Linked DNA regions of Homo sapiens: regions 2 and 3 are each linked to region 1. The links are contacts of gene promoters, found by promoter capture Hi-C in blood cells and fetal thymus (Javierre and others, 2016). All regions are on one chromosome and are shown on one strand. The core of a region is centred on a gene start or on the middle of the fragment in contact, and the rest is flanking DNA. Distances in the headings are between cores, read along the strand shown.

Region 1 (4,051 bases), core at 317-2,816:
CTCAGAATCTTGATTCCCCATCAGCCAAAGCAAAAGATGGCTGCTGCTTTGTAGGCATGTGCCTGCAAGTGGGACCTTGCTGGGCATTATATGCCCTGTGGGGGTTTCAGAGACCCTGAAAGAGGAGGGAGGACCCGCCTCCTTGTCTGCACAACTGCATGCACTTCTCTCCCCATCGCTCCACAACCTGAAACCGAGAAGGAGTTGCTGACCAGTGCCCACCCCGGCAGCCCGGGAGGAACACAGGCAGCTCCTTTCCCTTCACGTGGTCTGCAGAGAGCAGGGTGAGCTGCCAGCTGCCCCTCTCCACCAGGGTACCCTGTCTTGGTGGTTAGGGGCCACTTTTCCTTTGAGGCTCTAGTGGAGGTGGATGTCCTTCTCTGCCAGGCTTGGCACATGATGTGAAGAATAAATGCCCAATTCTTACTGTTCAGGTTTGATGTGGAATCACAGCTGCAGTGATATATATTTTTTATCAGTGCTTGGTTGGTTTTAAATAAAGTGCACGCTATTTTATTATCTTGTTCTGAATAAAATGTATTTACTCCAAGTCTGGATTGCTTCCATGTCTCCTCTACTGCTAAACCCATTTCTGTAGTGCAGCTCCGCCTCCCAATTTCTCCCTGTGGGGGCAGTGTGAAGCTGGCAGAGGGGAGAGCTGAAAAGGCAGGCTGGTACCAGGTACCCTTCCCTCCAGGAGCACAAGGAATTAGGAAAGCATGCCCCCATTACAAAACGTAGGAACGACTGGCACTGCTGGAAATGCGTGTGCTTGCTGGGCAGAGGGGTCACCCCTTCCCTGCAGTGTGCTGAGGTGGGTGGGCAGCCTGGAGAAGACTTGCCTGCCCTCCCCTTCACCACCCACCTGAGGACTTTCCTGTGCCAAGGTTTCCAGTCGGCCCACAGGCTGGACCAATTTTGCGGAGGGCCTCAGACATAATTTTTTCTTTGTAAGCTGCCCAGGGCATGAGAGTGTGCAGCTGGGGCCCCTGCTCTGGGCCTCTCCCCAAACTGCCTGGTAGGCAACACTGGGTCAGGACCCTTGAGGCTGGCCTTCCCTCGGGAGTGTTGGGCAACCCTCAACCCTCCTAAGCGCTGCAGGACGCTGCCCAGGTGGAGCTGGTCAAGAGACTAGAGCTGCCTGCACCTAGAGCCCTTCCTCCACGGCGGTGGCCTAGCTCTGTCAGGGCAGGCTCAGGTGGTTGGCATCTGGCCCCGTTTGACCCCCTCCCTCCTTTCCTGTCCCTGCAGCTCCCGTCCCATGTGTCCCTGAATTCTGGTTCTGACTCAGGTGTCAGATGCCTTCACAAGTGAGCTGCTTGTGGGGGTGGGTGAGGCAGAGAAAGTGGCTTTTTCTTCCCTGATCAGAAGCTTCCGTGAGGGAGCCACACAGAACTCACCGAGTCCCTCCTGGCAGAGGCGGCCGTCCTCTGTTGCTTCCAGGGACGTGGCCCTCTTCCCGACCTCGGTCGCCTGAGCGCGCAGGGATTGGGGATCCGTAGGGCACTAGGACCCGGCGGGGCGGAGGGGGCAGCCCATGTGCTGCGATTCGCTCCCTCCCACCCCACTGCTCCCGCTCCATTGTCTGGGAATTGCAGCCGCGGGGCGGGCGGCGGCGGCGGCGGCGGCGGCCGGGACCCAGCGGGCCAGGTGGGGACGGCGCGGAGCGGGTGCGGGAGATGCCGTGCGGGACTGGGGCCACCTGAGCCGCCCGCCTCGTCCCCGCCTTCTGTGGGAAGGATGTGCGCGCGGATGGCCGGTCGCACAACAGCGGCCCCTCGGGGGCCCTACGGCCCCTGGCTCTGCCTCCTGGTGGCCCTCGCCCTGGACGTCGTGAGAGGTCAGCGGGAGGGGAGGGCCGGGGCGAGGGGCGGCCGGGCCCGGCCGAGTGGGAGCGAGTGATGCCCGGGAGCCACCAACCTTTGGGTTCTCGGACTGAACCCTGAGCGGGGTCGCCCCGCAGCGCCCTGAAGGTCGGAGAGTTCTTGCCCTCGGGAACCTGCCCCCAGCCACTCGCCCCTAAGGCTTCCTTCACCTTGCACGACCCGGCAACTCCTTCCTGACCCGGGGCAGCCCGGCGCAGGGGCTTCCCCGTCCCGCACCTTCTGCGAGGGACCCCTCAGCCCGGGCATCGAACCCGGCGGCCCCGGTCCCGGGCGCACTAGCGTCATCCCCACTCCCTCACTGTGGTCTGTAGCGCTGCACCCTCCTAGCCTCCTTCCGCCGCCACCAACCCACCCCCCTCGGGAGTGGAAAGCAGCCCCTTTGCCTGGGACCTGCAACAGACGCAAGCCCTCCCTCCCCCTTCCCCCAGGGCTCCCTGACCTTGGCGTCTCCAGGGATGGCCGCATCCTTGCCTTCCAGAACCTTTGAGAGGATTCCTGTCACTGCGGGAAAGGGCAGCAACTTCCCTGTGCTTCGGGGTGGGGGTCGGACTCCCTTGGCCTGGGCTAGCTGGGCTGTGGCTGCAAGGCAAAGGATGCCACAGAAGACAGAGGGACAGTGAAACATTCTCTGCCCTCCCCACCGAGAGAGCCGAGCGCTGGGTGATGGGAGTCCGTGGGAGTCAGGCTAAGAGCATCTTGTAATTATGGAGGCAATGGAGTAGGAGGCGAACCTGAAGCCAGTGGCTGCCCCCAGAGAGCAGTGGTCACTTGTTACGCTTGGGGCAGGGGGCAGGGAGAGCCTGTCAGTCATATGCTCCTTGGTGGGGAGGGCCAGGAAGGAGGTTGAAACCAATTCCCCCACCCCCACCCACAGTCCAGCTGTGGGGCTGAGAGGGAGCTAGCTGTGGGGTTGCTTTCAGCCACCTGCTCCCCATCCCGAGGGACGCCATGGGAGTCCTAATAGAGAGAGGAGGAAAACCTTGTCAAATCCATTATGCAGCAGCAATAATGCCTGCTCCCTCCAGACAGCACTCCACAGTTTACACAGCCCTGTCCTGTCCACAGTGCCACCTAATGCTCCTGCCCCTTTTACAAGTGAGGAAACAGGCTTCAAAATGTTAATGCCTGACCCAAGTTTCATCAATTTAAATTCAGGTCTCCAGGCTCCCAGGAAATCCTCTCTAGGGAGCGCTTCCTAGTTTGGGGGAATTCCAGGATGAGCAAGACAGGGTCCCTTGTTTATAGGAAGATTACTAATTCAGAGGAGGCACCCAGGGTTGCAAAAGACAGGAGACTGGTGGGAAGGTGAGTAACCAAGGAGGGCTTCCTTCAGAAGGAGGCAGTATTCACTCATGGCCCTGAATGAGGAGGGAGGTGCCACCGGGCAGAGCAGAGGAGAGGAGGTGCGCTCCAGGGCATGAAGCCTGCAGGGTGCACCGTGGCAGTGGAGAGTGGAGAGAGAAGTGGCAGGTGGAGACGCCGGATGGTCTAGTGGCTAATACCTGGGATCAACCCCCAGCTCCTTCACTCTCCAGCTGTGGAACCACAGGCAAATACCTTAACCTCTCGGCCTCATTTTCTACATCCACAAAATGGGATTCATCATAATAGAACCTGGTTCACAGAATTATTACAAAGACTCAAAGAGTTCATATACATACAGTATTTAAATTCTCACCTGCATATAGCATTCACAAAATGCTAATTATTATTATTAGTGCTCATAGTTAGAGCAAACCAATATGGCTTAGTGCTCCTTTGTCCTTCTGATGATTGACTATTTTGACTGTCTTCCCCAGGCTCCTGGTCCCCACCCCACCCCCAGGGCAAGCAAGTGCCTTCACAGACCTCTTCAGCACCTTCCGCGCCCGCCCATCCCACACTTGCACTCGATACCAGTCGGTTCAGGGAAGAAGGGAGCAAGCTTGGAAAGATGGTGCAGGTTGCCATGGCAATGATGGGGGAGGAGGGGTGGATGCCCAGCAGAGCCTGGCCAAGGATTCAGGGCAGAGAAAGCTCACTTCATTACCATATTTTACTACACTGGCCCAGTCTGCCGACGGTTGCACCCCAGAAGTGCCTTGGTATCAGAGGCGAGTAGATGGAGGGCAGGAGTTGGGGAAAAGGAGACATTGAGAAGGCTGTTGGCGAGAAGAAGGCCAAGG
Region 2 (4,051 bases), core at 1,552-4,051, 470 kb after region 1:
AAGAAATTGAAGGTATAGAGATTGAGAAGGAAGTAAAAATGTCTTTATTTACTGATGATGTGATCATGTACATAACAAGCCTCCTAGAAATAATCAATTTAGCAAGGGCACTGGCTGTTGGGACAGTCTTGCATGGGTCCTAAGCATCCCTGCATGTTCTTACTATGTCAAACCAGAAAGTCTGTCTCCTGATACTGAGCACAGAAGCAATTAAGTAGACCAAAGTGACTATAGTGTGATGATAGTATAATTTCTCCCTCCCCAGTGGAAAGGGCCTGGCTTTATTTGCTGCTTGCTAAAAAGGGTACTGAGCCTTTGGCTCTGGGCTCCACCAAGCTGTGGCATAACTCCTTGAGTGCAGCACCATCTGGGGTCATTGTGTCACTCATAGGACTTGGGAGCAGGGGGCCCCCAGGTTGCCATGCTGATGTTCCTGCTGTTTGCCATAAGTAATTTGGCCTCACTGTCAGCTTTTGGCATCTATGAAGTTGTGGCATACTCTGACATAGATTAGCCAACTTTTTCTTAAAGGGTCAGATGGTATTTAAGGCTGTGGGCCATGTGGTCTCTGTTGCAACTACTTAACATTGCCATAATAGCATGAAAGCTGCAATATATAATAACATGTAAGTAAGTGACCATGATGACGTTCTCCAAAGAACTTTTATTTACAAAAACAAGCAGCTGGCCCACTTTCTTTGTTTTTCTTTTGAGACATAGTTTCACTCTTGTTGCCCAGGCTGGAGTGCAATGGCTTGGTCTCAGCTCACTGCAACCTCCGCCTCCCAGGTTCAAGCGATTCTTATGCCTCAGCCCCCCAAGTAGCTGGGATTAGAGGCATGTGCCATCATGCCCGGCTAATTTTGTATTTTTAGTAGAGATGGGGTTTCACCATGTTGGTCAGGCTGGTCTTGAATTCCTGACCTCAAGTGATCCACCCGCCTCAGCCTCCCAAAGTGCTGGGATTACAGGTGTGAGCCACCGCGCCAGGTGCAGCTGGCCCACTTTCTTTCCATATCAGGCTCAGAGCAGGAACTTTTCTAATGTCTCTTGTCTTGCAGGCAGCGAAGATGGGGAAGCAGGATCTGGATTCCTTTCCACCTTAACCTCTGTGCTCTGCGCTTTCCTACTTACCCTAAAGGGCTTCCTTGCCCTCCAGCTTGCAGTTAAGTTGTGTCAGCGGGAGACATAAGCAGAGATCAGAGATGGGAGAAGGGAAATGGAGGTCCCTGCTATATTTATCCACTAGCCTCCTAGAGTGTGAGGGTTCCTAGTGGGAGGCCTTCTATGCACATATTACTCTCCAGCTTCAGGGAATTGTTTCAGGCCCTTCCCTTTTAAGCCTAGAAGTAACAATTACCGCCCCACCACATCCCAATTAGCCAGGGGTACAGCACTTTGCTTAAAGCTTAGTCACTCTTGGCCGGGGGCATTAATCACACCTGTAATCCCAGCACTTTGGGAGGCGGGGGGGGGGGGGGGGGGGGGGGGGGGGGGCGGGTCACCTGAGGTCAGGAGTTCCAGACCAGCCTGGCCAACATGGTGAAACCCCGTCTCTACTAAAAATGCAAAAATATTTAGCCGGGTGTGGTGGGGGGCACCTGTAATCCCCGCTACTTGGGAGGCTGAGACTGGAGAATCGCTTGAACCCAGGAGGCGGAGGTTGCAGTGACCAGAGATAGCGCCATTGCACTCCAGCCTGGGTTACAAGAGCAAAACTCCGTCTCAAAAATAAAATGAAATAAATAAAATAAAGCTTAGTCACCTTCCTCAGGCTACCTGGTTGGAGCGTGCCATCTGTTTCCTGCTTTACCCTGATTGACAACGGGCTAACAGCCAAGTCAAGTCAACCTGAGTCCTCTCAAAACCCTTCTTTTTGCACTCCCCTGCCTGCAGCAACACAGTTTTCTGTTTTTTTTTTTTTTTGAGACAGAGTCTCACTGTCGCCCAGGCTGGAGTGCGGTGGCGCGATCTCAGCTCACTGCAACCTCCGCCTCCCGGGTTCGAGCGATTCTCCTACCTCAGCCTCCCAAGTAGCTGTAACTACTGGCGCGCGCCAGTACGCCCGGCTAATTTTTGTATTTTTAGTAGAGACGGGGTTTCGCCATGTTGGCCAGGCTGATTTCGAACTCCTGACCTCAGGTGATCCATCACCTCGGCCTCCCAAAGTGCTGGGATTACAGGCGTGAGCCACTAAGCCCGGCCAGCAACACGCTTTTACCGCTGCAAATCCGGATCAGGCAGGCTTTGAAGCCCAGCTCACAGGCCGTCTCTTGGAAACTAACTTAGATTTCCACCTGGGAGCACTTTGTCCTCTCAGCTCCCACTGCACCACTTTATGGATCGCGTGGTGACTCGTTTCATTTTATTTATGTGTGTTCCTGGAAAGGACGCTCTATTTCCTTCGTGTCTCTACCTGGTAGGTAAATCGGCCGCAGAAAAGACCAATGCTAACTCCACCCTGCATTTGCAGAGATCCGTCGCTCACACCTTTTCTTGTCTTCCGTTGAAAAAAGAGAATCGTGGGAGTAGGACCTATTTGCCAATCTCCTGGTAACACTATCACAACTGGCCACTTCCGCCCAACGCCCGGTAGTCTGAGAGCCTCCAAGGTCCTCCCCCGCACCCCTGAGGTCCTGCAGACGACGGCGTCGTGGGTGGTCACCGTTATCCCTTAGGTCTGGAGAGGGGACATCCGAGCGAGGGCCACTTGCGGCCAGGCCCGAGCTCGTCCAGCTCCGGGTGACCACAGAGTGCCGCGGGCGGGCAGAGGGGCCGGAAACCCAGGCCGCTTCGTCCCTGTTTCCGGCAGCGCCGCGCTGCTCCGGGAGCCGCTGTGGCAGCGTATGCTGCCACGGGGACTGAAGATGGCGCCGCGAGGTGAGATTCCGGAGGTGTGTGAGTCGCTGGTCCCTTTCCCTTCGGTCGCTCCCTCCCACCTCTGTCCCAGAGCTTGACCTAAACCCTCCATTCTCTAGCGTTAGGGACGTCGCGCCTCCCTGGTCCAAAGCCGGCTTCCGCGGTCCCGCCCACCCTGGGTGCCTGAAGGTCTCAAGGTGCACAGCTCAAATAAACGCAGATCCTTGGCTGGGCCACTTCTAGGCTGGCTCAGGTGCGAATCTGTTGGTCTCTGCGCCCCAACTTCCCCTCCCAAATAGTGACAGAGTGAGATCTTTGAGATGTCTGTCAGCTGCGAGTTACCTCTTGACTTTTATTCCTGAAGCCGAAGAGTCGAGTTTCACGGTGATTCCTAGGAAAGGAGGGAAGCCCCCTCCACTCCCACCCCCGTACCCTCGCCCCCTCATTATCAGCAACCAGAAGTGCCCCTGAGTGGCCGGTCCCATTAGTTGCAGCGTCTAGTTTCCCCAAAGTTAGACACCAACCCATACGAGCAGAGAGGGAGCTGCCTTCCGGCCCATCCCACTTCTCTGTGCTCCTTTTTCAGGTAAACGGTTGTCCTCCACCCCGCTGGAAATCCTGTTCTTTCTGAACGGGTGGTATAATGCTACCTATTTCCTGCTGGAACTTTTCATATTTCTGTATAAAGGTAAGGAAGGCTTGGGGCTTGACGACAGCATCCCTTCCCCACTTCAGCTCAGAGCCAATTCCTACCAAGAACCTTCTTATTTTCCGTTCTTTTCTGCCCCCTGCAGTTCTTTGTCGCTGCAAGGCAGGCCTCCTCATCAGATGGCTTCTTTGAGTATGATTCCATAGGCAGCCCCTCAGCAAGAATTTCTTGAGTTTGAGAAATGTGGGCTTCTCCATTCTGACTCTGCCCACATCACTGCTCTTTGCTGAGCTCCACTGTAAGCCCACTGGTGACCCTTAGAAACTATTCAGTGGCCTGTGTACCCATGTACATCCAATCATTTTGGAGAGTGGAGTCCCCAGAGACTTTTGGAGTTAGGAGTAAAACACCATAATAATGAGCCTGAGTCGCATTGTGAGTTTATGTATCCTGCTGCTGTAATAATGCCCACATCTCACTAACTAGTTCATGGAAAGCTGAGACTGATGTCCTCTTTTTTCCCAAGTGTGTGGCAGTTCTTGT
Region 3 (4,051 bases), core at 988-3,487, 370 kb after region 1:
TAAAAATGCAAAATTAGCCGGGCATGGTGGCGCATGCCTGTAATCCCAGCTACTTGGGAGGGTGAGGTAGGAGAATTGCTTGAACCTGGGAGGCGGAGGTTGCGGTGAGCTGAGATCACGCCACTGCACTCCAGCCTGGGCAACAAGAGCAAAACTCCATCTCAAAAAAAAAAAAAAAAAAAAAAAAAATTAGCCAGGTGTGGTGGCATGTGCCTGTTGTCCCAGCTGCTCGAGAGGCTGAGGCATGAGAATCGCTTGAACCCAGAAGGCAGAGGCTGCAGTGAGCCGAGATCGCACCACTGCACTCCAGCCTGGGTGACAGAATAAGATTCTGTCTCAAAAAAAAAAAAAAAAAAAGTAGGGCAGCCAGCAAAAGAAGAGGAAGGGAGAGGGTGTTCTAGCAGGGGAAACAGCACAACTGCAGGCCTGGAGGGGGACAGAGAGGACAACTGCAACCAGCTCCAGTCATGGACTGGACAGAGGGTGATGAAATCCAGCCTGGTTTGAGCTTCCAACCCCACCGCAACAGAAAAGGGACAAGAAACCCCTTCCCAATGGTGTTCCACCAATGTTCAGAGCGGAGGGAAGATGATTCTGCGAGGCAGGCACTTTGTAAAGCACCCACTCTGCGCTGGGCACTGGGGACATGGGACAAGGCAAACTTAGCGTGTTCTTGGGGAGAAAAATCTGTGCCAAAATGTGACAAGTATTCCGGAAAGGGAAGCTCAGGGTGCAATGGCAGCACACAAAAGTCTGAGGAAAGCTGTCCCTGGGGCCTTTTTCCCTCTCTGAGGTCATCACAGAAGAAAGGGGGGGCCCTCCTGCTGGCGGGAGCTGGCAGTGAAGTCTCATCCACCCCCTTGCTGGAGTGATTATGGCAGCAGCCTGAGAAGGAGGGGACCGGGCGAATGAGCGGAGCCTTGGGACTCTCAGAAACGGACAGGCAGTGCCACCAAGGCGGCAGATAAAAGGGTGCCCAGGGAGGCTGATGGAGTCGAACTCTCAGGTGGGCAGGGACCGAGCACCCGCCAGAGCGCCCTAAGGAGCCTCCTAGGGCTGGTGACAGAGGGACAGGTGGTGGGAGCCTGTGGAACGCCGGGGAGTCGGGGCAGGTTCTGAGCAGGAACTGGCGGTGGCTGTGGAACACACGTGTGAGCTACAAGCCTGGCCGGGCCGCCCCCGCTGCGCGCCCCCCGGAGGACGTGGCCGCGGGCCAGGCCGCCTGCTGACACAGTGTTCCCTAGCTCCGAGCATCACGCACACACGCGCACGGCCCCACCGCGGCCCGGGGGAAAGCACGTGCGGAGGGCGGCATCCATCGCGAAAGACAGCGGAGGGGCATGCACCCCACCCCCACGCGCGCACACGCACGGACAGAAAACGAAAAGTGACCCAGAGACCCCGGCTGTTCCAAGGTCCATGAAGTTCGTAGGGCCAAGACCCAGGGAAAGCCCCGCGCGGCAGGGGAGGCCAGGCGCTGCCCGGGCAGAGCCACGGGCACGCTGGGGGGTGAGCCAGCCAGTCCGGAGACCAGATGGCACGTCCTGGGCTCCCCTCTCCAGAGGTCCGCGCTCCAGGGCACATTAGGAGTCACCCAACGCCTGGACCTCCGATCTCCCAGGTCCCAGTCTGGACAGCCCCAGCCAGGGGGGCACGATGAGCACCCGCCTAGAGGCACAAGTTGCTGACTCTTTGTGCCGTCCCCGAGCTGTGCCCGCGCTGATAGCACCCCAGAGGAAGCCCCGACACGCGGCTGCCTGCGGCTCCTGAGCGCCCCTCCGCGCCTCTCGACTGCACGCCGGTAGCGCTCTCCCGGGCGGGGGAGCGGGGAGGAGCTCCGGGCGCTTACCTCTCGGCCGCGAAGTGCCCGGGCGGCTTCCTCCCGGTGTAGCCTCGGGCTGGTGCCCCCGGCAGCAGGAGCGCGACACAGGCGGCCCGAAGGAGCAGTCCGGCCCACATGACCGGCGGCGGCGGGTCCCCCGGGCTGGGCTCGGCTCCTGCGCCGCGCGCGGGAGAGGGGGCTGCCGGCCCTCGCCCCTCCTCCTGGCGCCGTGGGGAGCGAACCAGCGATCCCCGAAATGGCACGCAGAGCTGAGCAGGGGGGCTTGGGACGCCGAGAGGAGGGGCCGAGGGCCGCGAGGGGACGCGGCGGACGATTGTGGGGAGGGTCTCTGGCACCTCGAAGCGAAACACACAAAGGCAACGCCGCCCGCCTGCTGATGCCTCTCCGAGAGGCGCGGAGCCCGGGGCGGGGGCAAAGATCAGGGACCCCTGGGGGCGGGGTTTCGCCCTCGGCCCACACCCCCTGCCCCGGTTTGGGAGTCGGCTTCCTGCGAAGCGCTGACTGAAGGCGTCAGACCGAGGCCCCGGGAGGAAACAGACTTCGGGAACAAGGCTAGCACCAGAGGCTGCGCGCCCCGGGCATGGCCCCTGTCGGTGGGACCCGAGACGCCTTGTTGTGACGAGGTGGGAACCGTGGAAATTCGAACCCACGACGCCAGGTCGCTGTGCCGCTGAGCAGTTCTAGGCCTGCCCCCAGCCTGCCAGAAGGTCTGCACCCTAACGCCGGAGTGCGTTGATCTGTGGGTCCAACCGCTCCCTGGCCTGGGGCCCTAGCCACTTTTGAAGCCCCGGGCTCCTCTGGGCACCCAGGGGGCAGATGGCCGGCCTCCCGACTGCTGGTGGCAAGACCAGGAAGCAGCTGGCGCCGTTGGCAGTGGAGAGGCAGCAGCAGATCTGGAAGGCTCCTCTTTGCCCCTTCTGCAGCTGCCCCAGGCCGTGGTCAGAGACTGGGGGGCTGCCTAGGGATTTAGGCAAAGAAGGGGTGCGGAAATCAAAATCATCCCGCTGGGAGAAAGCTGAAAGGATAACTGATTTTACCTTCTGCTCCATGCAGTAATCTTTCCCTTAGCCACCCACAATTAGTCAAGATTTTGCTTAAATACTTCCAGGGGTAAGAAACTCACTATCTGTTAAGAAGCGGCCCAATCCAGTTTTGAACCACATTTGTTTTAAAGTGTCTTCACTTCCCAGTTGAACAATCCCTGTTCCTTTGGCCTTCCTGCTACCTCTGCCTTTACTGAGGTGCTTAACATTGGTGGCCACAAATGGACATGGCGTACCAGCGGTGGCCTGGACTCGTGCCTCCTTCCTGCAGACACCATACTTTTACTAATGCACCCTAATATTACGTTTTTGGCAACCCCATGATGTTAATTATGACACATTGAGTTTGCAGTAAAGAAAAACCACAGGTGGCCGGGCGCGGTGGCTCACACCTGTAATCCCAGCACTTTGGGAGGCTGAGGTGGGCGGATCACCTGAGGTCAGGAGTTCCAGAACCAGCCTAGCCAATATGGTGACGCCCCATCTCTACTAAAAATACAAAAATTAGCTGGGCATGGTGGCGGGCGCCTGTATTCCCAGCTACTCAGGTTGAGGCAGGAGAATCACTTGAACCCAGGAGGCAGAGGTTGCAGTGAGCCAAGATTGCACCATTGCACTCCAGCCTGGGCGACAGAGCAAGGCTCCATCTCAAAAAAAAAAAAGAACGAAAAAAAGCAGGCATTTTTTGTTGTGCTTTTATGTTATTTAAACACAAGCTGCCAAGTGGTCTCCCTACCTGAAGCTGTGTGGCCCCATTTTTTTTTTTTTTTTTTTAGATGGAGTCTTTCTCTGTCGCCCAGGCTGGAATGCAGTGGCACGATTTCGGCTCACTGCAACCTCCATCTCCCGGGTTCAAGCAATTCCCCTTCCTCAGCCTCCCGAGTAGCTGGGACTACAGGCGCACATCACCATGCCCAGGTAATTTTTGTATTTTTAGTAGGGACGGGGTTTCACCATGTTGACCAGGCTGGTCTTGAACTCCTGACCTCAAATGATCCACCCACGTCAGCCTCCCAAAGTGCTGGGATTACAGGCGTGAGCCACCGCACCCGGCTTGTGGCTACATTTTTGCAGACATTCACCTTGAGGCCGTATCTCACCTTGTTTGTTTTGGCCCATTTTCTTGTCAACATATTCTCAACAAGTAGGAGCCAAAATATTCTGT

Evidence for each region. Contacts are between HindIII fragments. The CHiCAGO score rates a contact against its expected background, and 5 or more counts as called.
Region 2: a contact is called between the fragment with the promoter of TMEM216 here and the fragment with the promoter of TMEM132A in region 1, in 7 of 17 cell types (neutrophils, non-activated CD4 T cells, activated CD4 T cells and 4 more). The highest score is 9.3, in neutrophils.
Region 3: the fragment with the promoter of VWCE here is called in contact with the fragment with the promoter of TMEM132A in region 1 in 1 of 17 cell types (erythroblasts); the score reaches 5.2 in erythroblasts.

The regions. Positions count from the first base shown.
Region 1 is chr11:60,922,894-60,926,944 of GRCh38, forward strand. It overlaps TMEM132A (transmembrane protein 132A), which reads left to right and starts at 1,567. Exons shown (of 11, transcript NM_178031.3): 1 at 1,567-1,840. The coding sequence starts at 1,741. It overlaps TMEM109 (transmembrane protein 109), which reads left to right. Exons shown (of 4, transcript NM_024092.3): 4 at 1-550. LOC124902676 (a long non-coding RNA gene) reads right to left here and starts at 2,504. Exons shown (of 2, transcript XR_007062688.1): 1 at 2,326-2,504. RefSeq lists silencers at 1,463-1,822, 1,883-2,102, 2,143-2,212. The HindIII fragment of the contact is 2,439 bases long and covers 1,370-3,808 here.
Region 2 is chr11:61,389,786-61,393,836 of GRCh38, forward strand. It overlaps TMEM216 (transmembrane protein 216), which reads left to right and starts at 2,802. Exons shown (of 5, transcript NM_001173990.3): 1 at 2,802-2,880; 2 at 3,446-3,547. The coding sequence starts at 2,847. RefSeq lists an enhancer at 2,567-3,528. The HindIII fragment of the contact is 9,831 bases long and covers 1,755-4,051 here.
Region 3 is chr11:61,293,079-61,297,129 of GRCh38, forward strand. VWCE (von Willebrand factor C and EGF domains) reads right to left here and starts at 2,238. Exons shown (of 20, transcript NM_152718.2): 1 at 1,850-2,238. The coding sequence starts at 1,959. RefSeq lists silencers at 1,058-1,317, 1,758-2,067, 2,248-2,317 and an enhancer at 1,289-1,991. The HindIII fragment of the contact is 23,922 bases long and covers 1-4,051 here.